3 separate regions of the Homo sapiens genome follow, and regions 1 and 2 are each linked to region 3. Evidence: promoter capture Hi-C in human tissues and cell types (Jung and others, 2019). All regions are on one chromosome and are shown on one strand. Each heading gives the region's core, a stretch centred on a gene start or on the middle of the fragment in contact. The rest is flanking DNA. Distances are from core to core; before and after follow the strand shown.

Region 1 (4,582 bases), core at 550-3,049, 170 kb after region 3:
AGGTGAGAGGCCAGCAGGAGGCTCAGGGAGGAGGCGGGGCCTTAAGCAGGGGGAACAGGGGTGGGCGGGATGTACTTTTTCTGAAAATGTGGCTCTGGAGGCCACTTGGGGACAGGACCTGGGCTCTGGCTGAACTCCCGGGAGGAGGCTACTTCCTGGTGTGCCAGCCCCTCCCTGCCAGGTGGCCCCAGAGGCCCTTTACCAAGGGGTTTGAGGAGGCCACGTCCTTTCAGCCTTCCGCGCCCTCCATTCAGTCCTCTTCCTTCCTGCAGGAGGGCTGGGCCTGGGGTTGGGGCCACTGTTGCCCAGGTGTGGGAGGGCAGTGGCTTTGGGAGGTACAGGGACGATGTGTGAAACAGCGTCGCCTCTCCCAGTGAGATGGTTCTCCTTTGCCTCCGTCTCTTTCCCCGTTGACTTCTCCAAGTGGGGAGTCGTGGCTTGGTCCTGATGCGTCTCTAGAGCCACATCTTCCAGCTTCGAGTGAGCAGAGCAGTTGGAGGCTGAGGGCCTTTTCCTGGCAGGACTCTCCAGTTAGTCTTTGTTTTAGACAGTCTCGCTCCGTTGCCTAGGCTGGAGTGCACGATCTCAGTTCATGCAACCTCCGCCTCCTGGGTTCAAGCGATTCTCCCACCTCAGCCTCCCGAGTAGATTACGGGATTACAGGAGCCCGCCACAACACCTGGTTTATTTTTGTATTTTTAGTAGAAACAGGGTTTCACCGTGTTGGCCAGGCTGGTCTTGAACTCCTGACTTCAAGTGATCCTCCTGCCTTGGCCTCCCTAAGTGCTGGGATTCCAGGCGTGACCCATCACGCCTGGCCCCAGCTAGTCTTTAGAAATGTTAAGCTGTTTCACTTTATTTTCACACTGACAGCTGGTTTGTAGTGGGTGTGCTGTGGTTTTTTATTATTATTATTATTATTATTATTATTATTTTGAGACAGAGTTTCGCTCTTGTAGCCCAGGCTGGGGTGCAATGGCACGATCTTGGCTCACTGCAACCTCCGCCTTCCCAGGTTCAAGCAATTCTCCTGCCTCAGCCTCCTGAGTAGCTGGGATTACAGGCACCTGCCACGATGCTTCGCTAATTTTGTATTTTTTTTAGTAGAGATGGGGTTTCACCATGTTGGCCAGGCTGGTCTTGAACTCCTGACCTCAGGTGTTCCACCCACCTTGGCCTCACAAAATGCTGGGCTTACATGCGGGAGGTGAACCTGGGAGGTGGAGGTTGCAGTGAGCTGAGATTGTGCCACTGCACTCCAGCCTGGGTGACGGAGTGAGACTCTGTCTCAAAACAAAACAAAACAACAACAAAAAAACCAAATTGTGGTTACGTAGAAAAAGTGTCAACTTACATTTTCAGATGTCCCAGCCAGGCCATGTGGCTGCTTGGCCAGCTTAAGCCACTTGTGCTTGGGGCTGTCGGGGGACTTATCCGATTTTCACTCCCCTCGGGGGATGTTGCCTCACTGTGCTGGGAGGATTTGTGTTCCCAGGGCAGAGACCAGCGCTCTGACCGCACCCCTCTTGCCCAGCAGGGTCGGTGGATCTGGGTGTCTGTCTGCACACGTCCTGCAGTGGCCTGGACCTGCCCATGAAGGTGGTGGACATGTTCGGGTGCTGTTTGCCTGTGTGTGCCGTGAACTTCAAGTGGCAGGAGCAGAACCCGAATCTTTCTGGGGATAGCTTCACAGATCCACCGCTGAGGAGGAAACAGTGCAGAGCGAGCTGCCCACAGTGAGGCCCTGCTCCTGGGTCAGTCCAGCACACACTGGAGGCCACGAGGAGGAGCCCTGCGGTTACTGTGTCTGGGCTGAGCCTCACTGAAGTAGTTGCTTCCATTTAGAGCTCATGTTATATTTAGGTTGATACAAAAGTAATCACGGTTTTTGCCATTAAAGATGGCAATTACTTTTGCACCAACCTAATATGAAAAAAAAGCATCTTAAATACTGGAACTCCACTCGGGGCTTTTGCTCCTAGAGTAGAATTGGCGGGAATTGCCTGCAGGCTTACATGGTTTTCTTTGTTTCTTTCTCTCCCACCATGTCCTGTTTGGCCAAGCTCACGTGCTGGGTTTGAATGAGTTAAATGAGTGTCGTGCTGTGGCCTCACTGCACCCAGCGTAGACGGGCATTTGGAAGGGCGGTGTTAGAGGAGATTCTAGAAGCAGTAGCCCCAGCACAAGCTGAGCCCTTGGCCCCTGCTCAGGAGCCGGCTCCTGGATGGGAGTCAGGGATGTGAGCCCCTCGTGTGAGCTGAGCTCAGGGAATGTCGGGATCAAACCTGGTGCCCTAGAAAAGTCATCTTTTATGTGCTGAGCCAGTCCCCAGGGTGTTGCCTTTACTTGTTCCATGGCCATGGAATTAAGCAAAACATGCAAAAATAATTCTTCAGTCCTTGAAGAGCATCCAGCACAGAAGGTAGAAACCCTCCTTAAGGCTCCCTCCTCAAATCGGTTTGGCCATTTCGATGTGCACCCCCCCAGGCCTTTATACCCTTCAGATGCCAAATCTAAGAACCAGCTCCCAGAAACCACACCCCCTGTTCCAACCCCCAGCCTGGCTTGAGCATGGGTTGTTGGGGGGAGCCCAGGTGGGCACCCCAGGGGTCTGGTGTCTTCTCCAGGCAGCTCTCAGGCTCCCTTGGTTCTCTCTGCAGTTTACATGAGCTGGTGAAACATGAAGAAAATGGCCTGGTCTTTGAGGACTCAGAGGAACTGGCAGCTCAGCTGCAGGTAGCCACATCTGCCACCACGCCAGGGTGGGGAGGGTTCTGGAGGCTGGCACCGAGCCACGCTCCCTGATCCCTGCTTCCCACAGCCAGGGTGGGACCATGTGGGGTCTGGCGGAAAAGCTAGGGAGGGAGCAGAGGTCACAGAGTCCGGCCCACTCTGCTGTCCCGTTTCGGTACAGTAAGCTCGGGAAAGTTAGGACACACCCCCACCTGCCCTCTGGATTTATGGAGCTGACATTCCACAAATGATGCTGGAGCCGGGTGGGCCGGGCTGCAGTTTAGGAAGTGATCAGGGTCAGGTAGGTGCGTGGGCAAAGGGAGCTTCTGGGACCAGCCTTGAAAGATGGGTGGAATTCTGCAAAGGTTACTTGTTTCTTATTGCTAAAAGTAATACATCATTCTTGCCAACAGAATGATTGGCAGGATTTTCAGTAAAGGTCCAGGTCAGAAGTCATTTAGACTGGGTCCCCCAGTCTCTGTCAGAACCATGGTACTCTGTTGTGGTGTGAAAGTAGCCACAGATCATCTGTCGATTAAGGGGTGTGGCTTTGTTCGAATAAAACTTTATTTACAAACACAGGCTGTGGGCTGGATTTGGCCTGCAGGCTGTAGTTTGTGATCCTTGATTCAGACAGTTTAGCAAGGCTGAAAAGAACACCGACACCCCCTTGTTACCCACAGATGGGTGGGACTTGGCCGGAGGCCAAGAGGAGGGTGCTCGCAGGGGAACATACAGCATGTAGAGGCCAGGAGGTGCTCCAGGGCACCAAGTGTGGGAAAGTGGGACATACGGGGAAGTTTCCAGAAAGCATGATGTCAAGTTGGAGGCAGAGCGCTGCTGGGGCATGAAGAGTCTCGAGTCCAAGTGAGGGAGTTAGGAACTTGGGAGGGGTTGTTGTTGGGTAGGGGACCTGGGGTCAGCCAGGTGGTGACATGGGATGGGGTGGGGACAGGCAATGAGGTAAGCTCTGCTCTTTATTTTTTTGCAGGTGCTTTTCTCAAACTTTCCTGATCCTGCGGGCAAGCTAAACCAGTTCCGGAAGAACCTGCGGGAGTCGCAGCAGCTCCGATGGGATTAGAGCTGGGTGCAGACTGTGCTCCCTTTGGTTATGGACACATAACTCCTGGGCCAGAGGCTAAAACCCCGGGACCCCTGCTGTCCTTCCCACAGCTTCTTCTCAGAGTCTCAGGGCAAATCCTTTCGAGCAGCGCCTCCCAGTGGCCAGAAGCTGAAATGATGGCAGTAGTGCCACCTGGTGAATGAATTGGTTCTGTGACCCGGGAAGCTGTGCTTGGCTCTGATTTCTTTTCTGGAGGCTCGGAAACACTTCCTCTCTTCTTCTGTTCTTCACGCCCCATGCCCCTGCTAGCGTATTACTGTTCTGTGACTTCCCTGTGACCTCTGCAGTACTCCTCATCCTGCGTTTGGTCTCCAGGTGTCACCTTTCTGCCGTGTTCCTAACATTTTGATTCCTGTCTTGAAAAAAGCACCTGCTGCACCATAAGCCCAGGGATGTGGCAGCTGCAGCGGGCTTGGCTTTGTGAAGAACCGAGTGTGTCCAGGGATGTGGCAGCTGCAGCGGGCTTGGCTTTGTGAAGAACCGAGTGTGTCCAGGGATGTGGCAGCTGCAGTGGGCTTGGCTTTGTGAGGAATCGAGTGTGTCCACCGATGTGGCAGCTGCAGCGGGCTTGGCTTTGTGAAGAACCGAGTGTGTCCACCGATGTGACAGCTGCAGCGGGCTTGGCTTTGTGAAGAACCGAGTGTGTCCACCGATGTGGCAGCTGCAGCGGGCTTGGCTTTGTGAGGAACCGAGTGTGTCCAGGGATGTGGCAGCTGCAGCGGGCTT
Region 2 (4,654 bases), core at 1,321-3,820, 190 kb before region 3:
ATGGCCTAAAGAAACTTGCAAATGTCCACCTAGAGACAACACAAAACAACTCACAGTTCAGCAAAAGACACTCCACATCACTAGCCATTAAGGAAATGCAAACCAAAACCACAGTATACCACCTCACACCTACTGGGATGAAAAAAATGAAGAATAACAAGCTTTGGCAAGGATGTGGAGAAAACAGAACCCCATGCACTATGGGTGGGAATGTGTAATAGTGCAGCCACTGCAGAAACAATACGGTGGTTACGCAGAATATCAAAAATAGAATCATCACATGACCCAGCAATTCCACTTCCGTGTATATCCCCAAAAGAAGTGAAAGCAGGAACCCAAACAGATATTTGTACACCCAGGTTTATAGCAGCATTACTTGCATCTCCAAAAGGTGGAAACAACCCACGTGTCCACGGGCAGGTGAAAGGATGAGCAAAATGTGGCCCATCTATACACAACAGAGTATCATTCAGCCATAGGAAGGAAGCAGAGTCTGACATGCACTACAGCATGGGTCAACCATGGGCACACTATGCTGGGCAAAATAAACCAGACACAAAAAGACCCTGTCTCTACAAAAAAAAAGTTTTTAAAAATGGCTAAGATGGTAAATTTCTTATGATGTGTGTTTTACCACAATTAAAAAAAAAAAAAGAATATTAGTGGAACAACTGGGAAAAAAATTACAGCAGCATTGTTGGTAAGAAGGAAACCTAACTGCCCGTCCCAGGAGAACAGACAAACAGCTCGGCTCCCAGGCAGGCACTGAGGCAGTGACAGTGACCACATGTGGGTCGTCCCAGAAGCACAGCTTGGGTGAAAGCACACTGACGACTACATACACGTGGCGTGTTTCCGTGAAGTTTGGAAACAGGCGCAACGAAGCGATCTGCTGAGTCAGGACACAGAAGAGACCAAACTAGAAAGAAACATGCTGGCGAAGGGCAGACACAGACTCCCTGCCCCATCACTGAGGTGGGGCCAGGGCAGTGGTGAGGGAAGGCAGGGCTGCGGCCTCAGTGGGGCCTCTTTTTCTACACACAGCTGCAGCCGTCTCTTCTCTTTTCCATCGAGTTCTTAAAGGGTGACCAGCAGGCGGCGCTGGCACAAAGGAGAAGGCCTTCCTGACTGTGTCCAGGGCGCCAGCCACAGGGAAAGGCCTGAGGAAGAGGGCAGGGTCCCCTCTGCACCCAGGTCTCTGCCCTGTGTCTGAAGGAGATATTGGCAGGGGCAGGAGAGCTGGTCAACGTGAAGGCCCCAAGCTCAGTAGGTACCCACAGGCCTCAATGCTCAATTCAATGTTAATCCCTGCTCCTCCTTCTCCAGCTGGTGTGGGGAGAGTCCGCTGGAGAATCTTGGAACACTTCGACAGAAGGCTGCCTCCCCACGTTCCAAGTGCACCTCCTGCCTATCTGATGGAAGTGGTGGGAGGGTGTGGATCCCGAGTCTCCTTCCAGTGGCACAGGCTCTGCACCCAGGAAATGGGGCAAAGGGGTGTGGGAGGGGAGGGGCACTGACTCAGCCACCGCAGAACAGGGCCGCCTGCCACAGTGGAGCTACTGGAGACACAGAGTGTCTTCCACTAAGACAATCTGTGGAATCAATCCGTGCACACAGATCAGTCTATGCACGGCCCGACATTTGACCCGAACGGGCTGTCTGGGAGATGTGTGAAGCCTCACCTCCACACAGCTGTTGACTTCCTCTCCCGTGAGTCTGGACTGCACAGCTTTCTCAAGTGGCTCTGTGGCAAGCTGCACTGCGTGCTGAATCCGTTCGAGCATCTGCTTTTTATCGGGATCCGTGGTCTCATTTAATTTTACTGAAAATGGCTGCAACCATAAAGAGACGTCAAATCTATTAGATACTGCTCAGCAAAACCTAAATTCATAAAGGTGATTCCAGGTAGAAAACAGAACGGTTTTTCCCATGGCCCCATAGAGATAGAGAAGTGTGCAACCCAAGTGGCCAGGCAGTAAGGAACTAAGAGAGACTGAAGCTCCCGGCTCAGGAGCTCCTGGTTCTGCCCTCTCACGTGTGACCCTGGACAGGGCACCTAACCTCTCTGTGCCTCAGTTTCTCCAATGCAAATTGGGTGTGAGAGCAGTATTTCTAGGGCTGTTCTGGGGATGAGGAAAAGTAGGCCACCCAGTGTGTTCTGAGGTGTGCTGCAGACACATCCATCAGGAAGGTACTCAGGCCTCACTGACCTAAAAGATTGCTCAGCTCTAATTTTATTCCTGTTTTTAATTCCAGAGATAAAATGCCATAAGCATATCCATAATGATTACTGTAATTACTAAGGATAATTAGTAGAGAGTAAAATGACCTATTCTTACTATTGTAATAAAAATAAGTATATAACGATGGTTATTCAGAATGAAAATACTAGAGAGAACTAATTTCTTCAAAAGATTCTGAAAATTTACAGTATTACCAAATTAAAAAGCTTAGTATAGCTTTTGTATCTTGGGCAGAAGTTTCTGATTTAGTTGTAACCTTGGCATTGAAAATTAGACAGCAATATTGGTAAGCATTTTTATAAGTGTAATTAGTGGCACTGTGATGAATTCAGTTGTTTTCCTGTAAGTGGCAGGAATGTCACCTACTCTCCACTCCACTCCAGTACATCTTTGCTGGTGACTTTGTCACAGGCCAGGGGACCTTACCTATGGAGACTTCAGCGCCCCTGACGGAACTGGCTTGAGTAACATACACTTTGTGAAAGCCTGTGAGACTGACACTACCCTAGGGACAGTAGCCTACAAAGGACCGAGAACAGAAAGCAAAGGGCTCGGTTTCTAGAGCAGACAGCAAGAGGCCCACCTTCAGGGCGGCCTGAACATCCTCCAAGAGCTGTGCCGCTTCAGGCCTCTTCTCCCGATACTGCTCGAACAGGTGGTTCTGCCGGGCCCTCTTGATGATCTGGGGAGGGAAGGCAGACATTGGGGAGTGATGCTTGGATCCCACATGCATCCCTCTGCAGCAGGCCACTCTCTCCCTTGGCCAACTCTAAGTGAGGGTGAGGGTGGTGGGAGACAACTGTGGGCCCCGGACGTGCACACCATCATCAAATAGAAACACCACCCTCCATCTCCCACCTGCCAAGTAGTGCCCAAGGCCTAACATGATCTTTCTGACGCTTAATGAAATGAGCCCTGGGGGCCCCAGCTTCCCCTGCAAGCCACATGTCGAAGTGCGTGCTGTGGGAGGCCTTCCTTCTGCAAAACACCCAGGGCTACCGACCCCTGAGCAACATGCAGGTTTCTAACCGTGTCTGAACATCATAGAAATGATCATATCAGTAGCAGAAGTGGTAATATTAACTCACTGAGGGGATTAAAATGATGTTTATCAGGTGAAAACACAAGCTAGCTCAAGCCTACATTATTTACTTATGCGAAAGTTCTATCTTCTTTTACACCATCCAATTGCATTTAAAATTTAATCTTACAAATTCCCTTTACCTTGTCATCAATATCCGTAATGTTCATGCAATAAAAGACATCAAATTTGAAGTAATCCTTCAACACTCTTCTCAAGATATCAAAAGAGATGTAGGACCTAAAGCAATGAAAAAACAAACATTTCCACACCAGACGATATGTATAGCTTAACCTCCAACAACACGTGTTTGAACTGCATGAGTGCATTTATATATGATTTTCTCTGCCATCCCTGAAACAGCAAGACCCCCCCTTCTCCTCCTCAGTCTACTCAACGTGAAGATGGCAAGGATGATGACCTTTATAATGATCCACTTCCACCTAATGAATAGTAAATATATTGCCTCTCCCTTATGATTTTCTTCATAATATTTTCTTTTCTCTGGCTTCCTTTATCATTAGGAATACAGTATGTAATGTATATACAAAATATGTGTTCATTGACTGGCATGCTATTGGTCAACAGGAGGCTATTTTAGTGGTGAAGTTTTTGGGGAATCAAAAGTTATGTGTGGATTTTCAACTGTGCAGAGGGTCACACCCTCTACCCTCCAGGTTGTTCAAGGGTTGACTATACATGACCTTGGCACTGCAACTAAAACATGAACACATAAAAGGACTCTGTGGCATTTACCCCAACAGCCAGCTACTCGTCAGGAGCTACAGCCATGACCATCCAGTGGTCGGGGGGCGGTCACAGCCAACCCAGCGTCAGGCCTGTCAGGTCTGAGTGTCACGGGAACTCAGCATCTGGGGACCCCACGAGAGCTTGAGGGATGAGAGAAAACTTTAAGGTATGTGAGAAAAAGTGCCCAGGTCGAGTCCAGCATGTTAGCAGTGGGGCTATGGACATTTTCTTTTTGGTGATCTGTAGTCTTTCTGCAGTGAATATAGATTACTTATGGCATTAAAATTTTCATCTTAAAAATAAGAGAAGAAATTCAGTCTTGATTCCTCAAATCTCAGGTCTCTGTAGCAGATCTAAGATCTTTGTGGACCTAAGATCGCTGCTGTGGATCCCAATGGCTCTGACTTCTGCGTGCAACTGCAGAAGCTGCAGGGACACCCCGCGGTGGACCTACCTGGCGTGCCCCATGTGAGATGCGTCATAGACGGTTGGCCCACAGCAATACCACGTCACCTTTTTCCCATCTTGAGGTATGAACACTTCCTTTGTTAGGAATGAAGGAATGACGATCACAAGAAAT
Region 3 (4,370 bases), core at 664-3,163:
GCTGAGCACAGAGGTGCCAGCCACCCCGTGAGGTGCTGGTCATCTCCCTCGGCTTACACCCTCAGCTCTGTGGTCTTTTGTTTGACTGGGGTGAAATGACAGCCTGAGGTTGTCCCCGCCTCAGGGGTGGGCATGGGGGTGGGGGGCTCAGTGGAGAGGAGGCCCCAGTCCCAGCACCTCAGGAAGCTGAGTCCTGCCCGTGGTCCAGTCTGAATCTCCTGCGGGTGGAGTCAAGCCTGGTTGGAGATATAGGGCTCTTCCTCCTGTCCCTGTGCTCCATCCTAGCACCCAAGGCCCCGGGAAGGCAGACCATGGGTGGGAGGTGAGGTGGTGGTGGAGGGAGCCCCACCTGGGCCAGCATCATCAGGAGGACACCCTGAGTGGGGCAGACGGGGCATCACTGCCATGGCAGGTGGGGAGATGTGGGGAGGGGGACAGATGCTCTCCTACTCAGGATAGCTTGGGGGGGTCACCAACCCTCAGGCCCAGAGGGAGGCAGAGATGAGTTTTGGGAGGTCTTAAGTCTGTTGATGGTGGACCCCCTCCCAGGCACAAGTCCCGTCCACCCATGGACGGAGCTATCTCCGGGATCTACCAGCAAGCTCCAGCCCCAAAGCAACAGGTGGGGTTTCTCCAGCCTGTGGCCCACCAAGGGCCATGGTCCCTCTCCTATCTCACCTCCTGCATGGCTGAGGAGGACACGGGCCTCATGGGTGGGCCCCAGGGAGAGAGCATGGCAGGGAAGCGATGGACATAGAGGGAGAGGGGAGAGTGCAGGAAGGGGAGAGGCATGAAGAGATGGGGGACAGAGAAGGAAACAGGGAGGAGAACAGGGGGACAAGGGGTTAGAGCCACGGAGCTCAGCCAGACCCTGCTGCTGCCCCCTCTCTGCTGTGACCCTGGAGGAGGTCTCCCTGTGGGACCATGTGCCCCACTGGGGGCTCGGGAGGGAGGCAGAGCTCTGTAGGAAGGGTCGCCACAGTTGGGTTACAGGACTGTGGGGAGTAGAGGAGTTTGTTGCATCCTTGGTGAGCAGGAGGAAGAGGAGAGGGAGGAGAAGGAGGGGAGGAGGCGGGGGAGGACGATGGAAGAGAACAGGAGGGAGGAGGAGGAGGGGGAGGAGAAGGAGGGGAGGAGGCGGGGAAGGACGATGGAACAGAAGAGGAGGGAGGCACAGCATTCCCCATCCCTGGGTGGTCCAGGAGTGGCTCTGTGTCCCGCCCAGACAGCCAATACTGAGAAGCCCTGAGGCTGAGCACCCAGGTGTGGCAGGGAGGAGAGGGCCTATCCCCGGCTGCCCCCATGACTCCCCTTGAGAGTCTGCACCTGCAGGGAACACTCTAGATCATGGAGGAAGCAAGGCAGACAGGAGACAGAGCCACCGGGGGTGGGGGGTTGGGGAGCCATCACCCAAGCTATCGTCCTCTTCCAGACTCAGCCCAGGGCTGGCTGCGGACCAGGTGGTGCGGCCCGTCAGAGGGCGGAGGCTGCAGCCTGGAGAGCTCCCTGTTGATAGCATCTGCTGTTGCCCACGCCCCACCCCTGCCACCATCTGGCCAGCAAAAGAGCCCAGAAAATGCCGAGCGCCTGGGCCGGCCCCAGAGACCCACCCTGATCCAGCCACCTGCGCTACTCACCGTTTGGGGCAGAGGACTGGCCGAGCCCTGCCTGCTCTGACCCTGGGCCTTGGATCTATCCTGGCCGCGGCCGAGGGCTCCAGTCCCCAGAGCCTCTGGGCGGCTCCTGTTCAGTGTCCACCAGCTCCTCCGAGTCACATGGCATCCAGCTGGAATGGGGCCGGTCAGGAAGGTGTCTCTCTGAGGACCCCTTCTCTTCCGCTCAGCTCTCGCCCAGGTGTGGACAGCAAGAGAAACCCTGAACCTCCCTGCAGCCTTCCAGGCAGGCCTGGCAGGCAGAGGAAACCACGAGATCTCTGGGTGGAGCCCAGCCAAGCTGTGACTTCACTGGCACTCCTGGCTCAGAGACACCAAGCCCTGTAGGGCCCTTTAGGGACCACTTCTTTCCATCTGTGCCTCGGAGGGGCCGGCTGAGAGCCGGGCTACCGGCGGAACTTGTCCTTGCAGCAAAAATGTGTTTTTCTCTCCGCAGAGCACAGGCTGCCGGCCCCAGCTCTCCAGGCAGTGTGGGACCGCGGGGAGGAGCGGGGATGTGCGTGAGGCCGTCCCTCCTGCCTCGTTCGCAGGCACAGAGTAGATGGCCGGTGTCAAGAAGCTGCCGCGCGGTCCCCGGCCGAGGAGAATCAAACACATACAGCAGCGTCAGGCTCCGGGAGACCTCGTGAACTCAGTGATTTCAAGTCCCGTTTCAGACCGTGCCTTTCCTTCCAGTGCCCTGCCTTAAGGGAGATCGCAATTGACGTGCCAAGAGAAGGAAAACAAGGTCATTTTTTGGCCTCTGTTCCTCCCCGAGTCCAGGCCCTAGCAACTCTTTTCTCATCTTTGTCTTTAGAAAAATCTCCGAGGTAGAGAAGAGTGCAGAAACAGCACGGATTTGCTCCGGAGCGTTTCCCACTCTGCGCAGTCCGCCTGACCTCTCCTCTTGCGGACCAAGTGAGAGCAAGTTTCCCGCACGTGGCCTTTGACCTGTCACTACATCAGCAGGCATCCCCCAGGGCACCGGCATCCTCCATCCCCAAAACGGAGGGGCCGCACACAGGTCGTCTGGCGTCTGTGCAATGCTGGTGTCTGATGAATGTGTCGCGCTGGTGTCTGACGTCCATGCGGGGCTGGTATCTGACAGGCAGCAGTGCCGCTTGCTGAGTTGTGTCTCAGCTTCAAATCCTCCCTTCCTAAACCAGGATCCGAGCTGCCAGGTGCCCGAGGCTCTGTAAACCATGCCTGGGCTCTGCCACCGCTCTGGGAGGCCCTACCAGTGGGTGGTCACTCAAGGATGGCCCAGGGGTGTGGGGGAAGTGCTCCCAATCGCCCCACACGTTCCAAATATCTCACCCTTCTAAGTGCCACACTCCCTCCAGTTGTCCCACAGTTCCAATAGTGCCACTCCTTTCAATTGTCCATCCCACCCTTTCATAAGTTCCATGCCTTCCACTTGTCTTACACCTTAAAGCTGTCCCACCCTTCCAAATGCCCGACCCTTCCAATTGTCCCACTCCTTCCAACTGTCCCACTCTTCCATTTGTCCCACTCTTCCATTTGTCCCACTCCTTCCAATTGTCCCACTCTTCCAATTGTCCCACTCCTTCCAATTGTCCCACTCTTCCATTTGTCCCACTCCTTCCAATTGTCCCACTCTTCCATTTGTCCCACTCCTTCCAATTGTCCCACTCTTCCAATTGTCCCACTCCTTCCAATTGTCCCACTCTTCCATTTGTCCCACTCCTTCCAATTGTCCCACTCTTCCATTTGTCCCACTCCTTCCAGTTGTCCCACCCTCCAATTATCCCACCTTCCAATTGCATTAGCCTTCCAACTGTCCCACCCTTCCAATTTTCCCACTCTTTCCAATTGTCCCAGCCTTCCAATTGCCTCATCCTTTTAATTATCCCACTCTTTTAGTTGTCCCCCTCCTTCCAATTGCCCCATTCTTTCCAATGGTCCCACTTTTTAAATTGCCCTTCCCTTGCAATTGTCCCCCTCTTTCAATTGACCCACCTTTCCAATGGTCTTACCTTCCAATTGATCCACCTTTCCAATGGTCTCACCTTCCAGTTGTCCCACTCCTTCCAGTTGTCCCACTCCTATCAATTGTACTGCCTTCCAATTGCCTCACTCTTCCAATTGTCCCACCCTTCCAATTTCCCCACAGTTTTAATTGTCCCACTCTTTCAATTGTCCCACCCTTCCAATTGTCTCACCGTTCCAATTGTCCAACCCTCCCAATTGTCCCACTCCTTCCAATTGTTCTACCTTTTTAATTGTCCTACCATTCTAGTTGTCCCACCCTTCCAACTGTCCCACTCTTCCAATTGTCCCACCCCTCCTATTGTCCCACTCCTTCCAGTTCCCCTACCCCTCCAATTGTCTGACTCTTTCCAATTAGTCCATCTTCCTTTATGTTTTCGAGCTTCACTTTCACTCCCTGTCAGAGTTGCCCCAGCAACTCTCTCTCTCTCTCTTTTTGAGACAGAATGCCACTCTGTTGGCCAGGCTGAGGTGCAGTGGCATGATCACAGCTCACTGCAGCCTCCAACTTGCAAGCTGAAGCATTTTTTCCTCAGCTTCCTGAGTAGCTGGGACTTCAGGCATGCACCAAGTGCCAGGCTACCAGAGGCTTGTCTGGCTAATTTTTAAATTTTTAACTTTATAGAGATAGGGTCTCGATACATTGCCTAGGCTTGTCTCTAGTTCCTGATCTCAAGCAATCCTCCTGCCTTGGCCTCCGAAGGTGCT

What was found. The method cuts DNA at HindIII sites, captures the fragments that hold promoters and counts their contacts. A contact is called where the count stands out against the background at its distance.
Region 1: a contact is called between a fragment that was not itself captured here and the fragment with the promoter of MRGPRE in region 3, in 1 of the 25 tissues and cell types used here (pancreas).
Region 2: a fragment that was not itself captured here is called in contact with the fragment with the promoter of MRGPRE in region 3 in 2 of the 25 tissues and cell types used here (adrenal gland and heart right ventricle).

Annotation. Positions count from the first base shown.
Region 1 is chr11:3,404,962-3,409,543 of GRCh38, forward strand. It overlaps the pseudogene TSSC2 and the pseudogene FAM86GP. Among named protein-coding and RNA genes, the nearest start is that of ZNF195, 28 kb to the left of the region's middle. RefSeq lists enhancers at 1-712, 1,070-1,583, 1,584-2,095, 4,325-4,582. The HindIII fragment of the contact is 7,437 bases long and covers 1-4,582 here.
Region 2 is chr11:3,036,368-3,041,021 of GRCh38, forward strand. CARS1 (cysteinyl-tRNA synthetase 1) reads right to left here. Exons shown (of 23, transcript NM_001014437.3): 4 at 4,529-4,617; 5 at 3,468-3,564; 6 at 2,827-2,925; 7 at 1,683-1,832. CARS1-AS1 (CARS1 antisense RNA 1) reads left to right here. Exons shown (of 2, transcript NR_046580.1): 2 at 4,413-4,654. Among named protein-coding and RNA genes, the nearest start is that of CARS1-AS1, 9.3 kb to the left of the region's middle. RefSeq lists an enhancer at 3,684-4,654. The HindIII fragment of the contact is 5,188 bases long and covers 1-4,654 here.
Region 3 is chr11:3,230,504-3,234,873 of GRCh38, forward strand. MRGPRE (MAS related GPR family member E) reads right to left here and starts at 1,914. Exons shown (of 2, transcript NM_001039165.4): 1 at 1,638-1,914. The HindIII fragment of the contact is 8,659 bases long and covers 1-4,370 here.